Regions from separate parts of the Homo sapiens genome. Here region 1 is linked to region 2. The links are contacts of gene promoters, found by promoter capture Hi-C in human tissues and cell types (Jung and others, 2019). All regions are on one chromosome and are shown on one strand. Each heading gives the region's core, a stretch centred on a gene start or on the middle of the fragment in contact. The rest is flanking DNA. Distances are from core to core; before and after follow the strand shown. Region 1 overlaps IFNLR1 (interferon lambda receptor 1). Region 2 holds the start of NCMAP (non-compact myelin associated protein).

Region 1 (3,307 bases), core at 14-2,513, 390 kb before region 2:
GAGCTCTCTTGGAAATGGAAAAGCAACTAGCATGTTTCAAACACTTCTTGTGCACCTAGCACCTTATAATCTGTTATTTCAGCCTTGCACTGACCCTGGGAGGGAGATATCACTACTCTCATTTCATAGAGAGGAAAACTGAGGCTTAGAGAGGAGAGGTGACCTGGGCAAGCTCATTGCTGACCTGCCTTCTCTCATGCCATCCCATCCGCCTGGGTGCCCTCCACATGTCACTGGCCTGGCAGATCCTGCCCATCTGGATTCATTTTCTATTGCTGTCATAACAAATTACCACACACACAGTGCCTTAAAAATGATACAAACTTATTATCTCACAGTTCTCTAGGTCAGAAGTCCAGGTGGGCTCAGCTGGTTCCTCCGCTCTGGGTCTCACATCTGGAACCGATGGGGGAGAAGACACTTCCAAGCCCCCTTGGGTTGTCAGCAAAACTTAGTTCTTTGTGGCTGTAGGGCTGTGGTCCCTGTTTCCTGGCCGATTGTTAGTGGGAGCCTCTCAGCTCCGGAAGGCACCCACATTTTTCATCACGTTACCACTCCATCGTCAAACCAGAAACGGCACCATGGAGTCCTGTTTATGCTTCAAATCTCTCTGACTTCCCCTTCTGCCACTTCTCTTCTGCCTCCATCTGGAGAAAGTTTTAAAGGCTCATGGGATTAGATTGGGCCCATCTGGATTATCCAGGATAACCTCACTATTTGAAGATCTATGTCTCAGTCTATTTTGTGTTGTTATTACAGAATATCACAGGCTGGGTAATTTATAATGAACAGAAGTGTATTTGGCTCATGTTTCTGGAGACTTGGAAGTCCAAGAGCATGGCACTGGCATCTGGTGAGGGCCTTTGTGCTGTGTCATCCCATGGTGGCAGGTGGAAGGGCAAGAGAGGGTGAGAGTAAGCCAGCAAGAGAGGGCAGAACTCACTTTTCTTTTCTTTTCTTTCTTTCTTTCTTTTCTTTCTTTCTTTCTTTCTTTCTTTCTTTCTTTCTTTCTTTCTTTCTTTCTTTTTCTTTCTTTTTCTTTCTTTCTTTTTTCTTTCTTTTTTTCTTCTTTCTTTCTTTTCTTTCTTTCTTTCTTTCTTTCTTTCTTTCTTTCTTTCTTTCTTTCCTTCCTTCCTTCCTTCCTTCCTTCCTTCCTTCCTTCCTTTTCTTTCTTTTCTTTCTTTCTCTTTCTTTCTTCTTTCTTTCCTCTTTTTTTTTTTTTTTTGAGACAGAGTCTTGCTCTATCACCCAGGCTGGAGTGCAACGGGGCGATCTCAGCTCACTGCAACCTCTGCCTCCCGGATTCATGCGATCCTCCTGCTTCGGCCTCCTGAGCAGCTGGGATTACAGGCGCCCGCCACCACTCCCGGACACTTTTTGTATTTTTTAGTAGAGACAGACTTTCACCATGTTGGCCAGGCTGGTCTCAAACAACTGACTTCAAGTCTTGGCCCCGCAAAGTGCTGAGTGGCATAAGCCACTGCCCCTGGCCAGAACTCACTTTTTAACAATCCATTCTTGATAAACACACTCCCGCAAGACTGACCTTAATCTATTCATGGGGGCAGCGTTCTTAAGGACTAAATCACCTTTTAACAGGGCCACTTCTTAATGCAATCACAATGATGATTAAATGTCAACAGGAGTTTTAGAGGGGACATTCAAACCATAACAGTCTATAACGTTAATTAAGATTCCTACTGCCACGCAATACTGACATCTAACATATTCTTAGCTTCTGGGGATTAGGGCAGAGCACCTTTAGAGGATCATTCTGCCTACCATGGTCTTCCCTCTGTCCCCCACCCAAAATCCACATCTCTTTCTTTTTTCTTTTTTTTTTTAGATGGAGTTTCACTCTTGTTGCCCAGGCTGGAGTGCAATGGCGTGATCTCGGCTCACCGCAACCTCTGCCTCCCGGGTTCAAGCGATTCTACTGCCTCAGCCTCCCGAGTAGCTGGGATTATAGGCATGTGCTACCATGCTTGGCTAATTTTGTATTTTTAGTAGAGATGGGGTTTCTCCATGGTGGTCAGGCTGGTCTCGAACTGCCGACCTCAGGTGATCTGCCTGCCTCGGCCTCCCAAAGTGCTGGGATTACAGGTGTGGGCTGGGATTACCCAACCCACATCTCTTTCAAATGCAAAATCCATTCACTCCATCCCAATGTCCCCCAAAGTCTCATCTCATTACAGCATCAACTCAAATTCCCAAATCAACAGTATCTAAGTCAGAGTCAAATAGACTCTGGGCATAGTCCAGTCAGTACAACTCTCGGGGTACAGTTTCTCTCTATCTGTGGGCCAGCAAAACTAAAGTTTTCTGCTCCCAACATAAAATGTGGGACAGGCACAGGATAACAGTTGCAGACAATCTGGCTCAAGCATGGGGACATGAAAGGGACAATCAGGTCATGGTCCAATGCAGTTTGAAAATCCAGCCAAGAAAACTCCATTAGGTTTCAAGGCCTGGGAAGAATTCTCTTTCGCTCTTAGCACTGCCCTTTGAGCTTCTGGTTTCACCGTCTGAGATATCCTTCCTTTTCACTAAAGGTAGCAGGTGTTTGCAGCTAAGTAGTTTTACCAGTCTGCATCTCAACAGTAGAAACTGGAGAGTCCAACAGCCTTCTTTGATTTCATACTCTCTGTGTTCCATTTAATCCAAGCTAACAGTGTTTCTGTGGATGTAAACGTCTCAGGAACTTTACGGGTCTCCTATGGATGTCATGGGGGAATCCACTGCATTATTAGATAAAAGCCAGGTCCACAGATCCTTTTTTCAGATAAGCCCTTCTCTACTTTTGGCTCCAGCTGAGATGGCTGAGGGACAATGCTGTTCAGCTTCCTAGAAGTCCCCTGGTTTGATTGAAGGGGACTGTGAGTTATAATCTTAATCTCTTCAAAGAGCCTTTTGAGCGACTGAGTACTTTGATCTTTTATCTTCCTGAAGTTTGGTATAATCACATACTTGGCTGTTTCTCTATGTCACACTTTTGGGAGCAATCTCTTTTTTTTTTTTTTTTTGAGATGGAGTCTTGCTCTGTCACCCACCCAGGCTGGAGTGCAGTGGCATGATCTTGGCTCACTGCAACCTCCGCCTCTTGGGTTCAAGTGATCCTCCCACCTCAGCCTCCTGAGTAGCTGGGATTACAGGTGCCCGCCACCACACCCAGCTAATTTTTGTATTTTTAGTAGAGACGGAGTTTCCCCACATTGGCCAGGCTGGTCTCAAACTCCTGACCTCAGGTGATCTGCTCGCCTCGGACTCTCAAAGTGCTGGGATTACAGGCATGAGCCACTGTGCCCAG
Region 2 (3,751 bases), core at 62-2,561:
TGTTAATACCACCTTGCAGCTGGGCATGGTGGCTCATGCCTGTAATTCCAGTACTTTGGGAGGCCAAGGTGGGAGGATCGCTAGAGCCCAGGAGTTAGAGGCTGCAGTGAGCCGAAATCCCGCCACTGCACTCCAGCTGGGGCAGGAGAGCAAGACCCAGTCTCCATAAAATAAAATGGGTTGGGAGCAGTGGCTCATCCAGCACTTTGAGAGGCCAAGGCTGGTGGATCACTTGAGGTCAAGAGTTGAAGACCATCCTGGCCAACATGGTGAAACCCTGTCCCTACCAAAATATATATATACATACACACACAAAAAAATTAGCCGGGTGTGGTGGCATGTGCCTGTAATCCCAGCTACTCGGGAGGCTAAGCCAAGAGAATCGCTTGAACCAGGAGGCAGAGGTTGCAGTAAGCCGAGATTGTGCCACCACACTCCAGCCTGGGCTGCAGAGTGAGATCCTGTCTCAAAGATAAATAAATAAATAAATACTACCTTGGAGTTTCCTATAAAAATACGTGTTTTCTTCCTATAAAAATCTTAGTTCTTAGCTGAGGAGAGTTTGAAAGCATCTCACAGGCACTGAGCGGCAAGGCAGTCGGCCCAGATGCAATCACTTTCTGGAAATCAATTGAAAATAGAACCGGGAAACCAGCCTCCACTCCTGATACTGTTACTAACCTGCTATAAGACTTTGTGCTCACCTTTGCTTCCTGGGCCTCAGCTTCCCTGTTTCTGAGAGAAGAGATCCCCTCTCCGAGATCTCTTCCCGCTTTCTATAAATATTGATTGAGTACCCGCTGCCTGCCAGGGATATCGCCCTGGGCTCCTGGGATACAGCTGGAATCTCGACAGCCTGGGGAGGAAGGAGCCTTTGATCCTACAGCGGCAAGAGTTCTTGACACTTGCCGGCTGCCAAGCCTGTTTCCTCCCGGTCTAACGTTCTGTGGTTGTCTGAATCTCCAGCTGCCCCTCAAAACCTTCAATCAGATTAGCGCCGTGCTCCTTTAAAGACCCTACTCAAAGTGCCTGGAGCTCACCTGGGTGTGTTTGTGAGGCCCTTTCCCTCTCTTTACCCCGCGGAGGAGTCCGACCTGGAAGCCTCCTGCTGGACTTCTCTACTGGACTGAGTGCCCGGGAGTGCCAGAGCCAGTCCCAAAAAGGACCCAGGAGCGGGGACACCACGGGGAGGCGCCGCCACTCCAGTGTGCGGGACCCTGGCACCCCCGGCGCGTTCTCCGGCCTCCCCAGGATCACCTGCACGGGGCGGGGCCGGGGGCGGGACGCCCCGGGCGGGGGCGGGATCCCAGGGTGGCAGCGCCGGGCGGCGGCGGGGACCCTGGCTGGGAGCGCGGCGGTGCCGGCGGGAGGCCGAGCGGGGCTCGACAGAGCAGGTAGGAGGCGCCTGGTCGCCGGGGTTGCCCGGGGCTGCGGGGAGCGAGGAGCGGTCCGGCCCAGGTGCGGTGGCTTCCTGTCCACCTGCCGGCCGCGCTGGGCGAAGGAGGGCCCGGGGGTGGGGACGAGGGGTCCCCAGTCTCACCCCCACATCTGTTGGAGGAAGTGCCTGGGGTCTGCGCGGGAGGGCGTTGGTCCGGGGTGGTGGGAGGGAGGCTGATCATCTCCAGTGGGTCTTGGAGACGAGGTCGTTTCCTTGTCCCCTCCCCACCCAAGCATCTGGCGGAGGGGCCGAGGCTCGCTGGAAGAAAAGGGAGTCGACCTTGACCCGGCCTGGAGATAAAGGAACTTTTACCCACTTGGGGCCTTATCCGCCCCATCTGTTAAATGGGCGCCTTGATGGGTCTGCCCTATGCAGAGGCCCCTCCGGAAGATCTGCGATTCAGCGAGATGAAAACCCACGGCAGAGAAGGAGCCCAGGGCCGTAGTTTCCATCCACAGCACGTTTGGAGGGGCTCGGGGGTCGCTCATCCAGCAGCGCTCCTGAGGAAGGATGCAGAGACGGCTCCAGTCCTCTGGGTATCCTTGTGGGAGGAGATGGCTGTGTCAAATATGAAGGCTGGATTAGAGAGACCAAGGCAGCCCTTGAGTCTGGGAGAAGATTCTGGAAGGCCCCTTGGAGGAGGTGGCATCTGAGTGGGGCAGGGAAAGGAAAGGTGGTGGTTAGGGCAGCGCTTTGGAGTCCCTGCTTTACCCCTCAGCCAAGGCCGTCCAACAGTCTCGGGCAAGTCCACACTTTTCTCTATGTTTCAGTTTGATGTGCTCCTTAAATGAAACAATTTCTCTGACAGATTAAATCAGATAACTCATAAAGTGTTTAATACAGGGTGGGTATATAGTAGGCACTCAATGAACATGAGCTATTAATGTCTGCTAGCAGCTGCTTGGGGGCAGGGATGATGCCTATTTGGTTCACCCTTGTATCCCCAGCACCAGCACGGTGCCCAGCATGCAGTAGGTCTCAATACATATTTGTCCAATGAATGAATGAATGCATATGAAGTACAATGCTTGGCACAAATAGTGAATTTACAGATGGCTGGTTCTAAGAGGTGGGTATGGATACTAGAGACAGTGGTCTAGGTGGATGGAACAGTTATAAGCAGAAGCCAAGAGCAACAGATTATAGGCACCCCCTCTTATGGTGCATGTGTGTATGTGTGCATGTGTGTGTGTGTGCGCTTGTGTGCATGTGTGTGCATGTGGGTGTGTGCACGTGTGTGCGTGTGTGTGCGTGTGTGTGTTGGTGGTGGTAGTAGAAAGTGACAGGCACAGCCAGAGCACCGGGATAGAAGAGGGCACATAATACCCTGGAATCCTGAGTCCCATCAGCCCGTGGGAGTGGATGATGGGGCAGGAACTCTAGGTAGGCCAATACCTTTACTCATGTCCTCTAAGTGGGGAGAGGGGACAGAAGGGCAGCCAAGAGACACCAAAGGACCATGAATGCCTGGTGGGAGGGGAGGAGGAAATGGGAAGGGGGTTCCCATGACCCCTTCATGGCCTGTGGCTTTCTTCACCTTGTCCCTGCTGGGCTCTGTGCTGGCTGGGGCCGAGATGAGCTGTGGGGAGGCAGCATGGTGCCAAGCCAGCCAGCCGCGGCGCGTGCGGTGAGCTGGGCATATAGTGAGCTGGGCTTGAGGAACTGGCTGGGCTCTGTGGGAATCTAGTGTAGTGGTTTCCTATCAACAGCTTATCCCCTGGGCCAGTTCCTGGGCTCCGTAGCACCATGTGGACTATGGCCATTCCTGCCTGAAGTCAGGAAGGAGCTGTGTCCTTGAGGTAGAGCCACTCTAAGCAAAGCTAGTTTCAGTTTTGTGACGTCCTGGCAGGCAGCTGCAGTGGGTTTCCATCTCCCTGGGTTGACCACGAATATGTGAGAAGCAAAGTTCTAAAGTGCAGGTGGAGACTGGAGGAGTACATGAACAGTTGGGAGGCGCTGGACCCCCTAAGGGGGCCAAGTTCGAAGCTTCTCCTTGTAGCACTTTCCATAATTGCCAACAACCCTTGTTTAATATCGGTGTTTTGCCCTAAGCTCTAGAAAAGCAGGGAGCAAGGCTGCCTTGCTTCTCACTTTGTCCCCACCTAGCATGGTGTGTGGCTCACAGGAGGGGCTCAAGGAATCTATGTGGAATGCATCCACCCAGGCTGAGGATGGAGCTTTTGGCTTTGAGAGAGGAGATTCCGACAACACTGACCATGAGCTTCTTGTTTCATCGTGTGGTCCCCCCACTGTCCCCATCCCCTCTCTCACATTTTGTACCTCCACCCTTTCTCCTGCCATCATCAATGCCTT

What was found. Contacts are between HindIII fragments. The study calls those that stand out against the background at their distance.
Region 1: a fragment that was not itself captured here is called in contact with the fragment with the promoter of NCMAP in region 2 in 1 of the 25 tissues and cell types used here (lymphoblastoid cells).

The regions. Positions count from the first base shown.
Region 1 is chr1:24,161,754-24,165,060 of GRCh38, forward strand. The region is part of intron 3 of IFNLR1 (interferon lambda receptor 1); the gene reads right to left. Among named protein-coding and RNA genes, the nearest start is that of IL22RA1, 20 kb to the left of the region's middle. The HindIII fragment of the contact is 5,076 bases long and covers 1-3,307 here.
Region 2 is chr1:24,554,776-24,558,526 of GRCh38, forward strand. It overlaps NCMAP (non-compact myelin associated protein), which reads left to right and starts at 1,312. Exons shown (of 4, transcript NM_001010980.5): 1 at 1,312-1,394. It overlaps NCMAP-DT (NCMAP divergent transcript), which reads right to left and starts at 1,249. Exons shown (of 3, transcript NR_109781.1): 1 at 1,041-1,249. The HindIII fragment of the contact is 18,614 bases long and covers 1-3,751 here.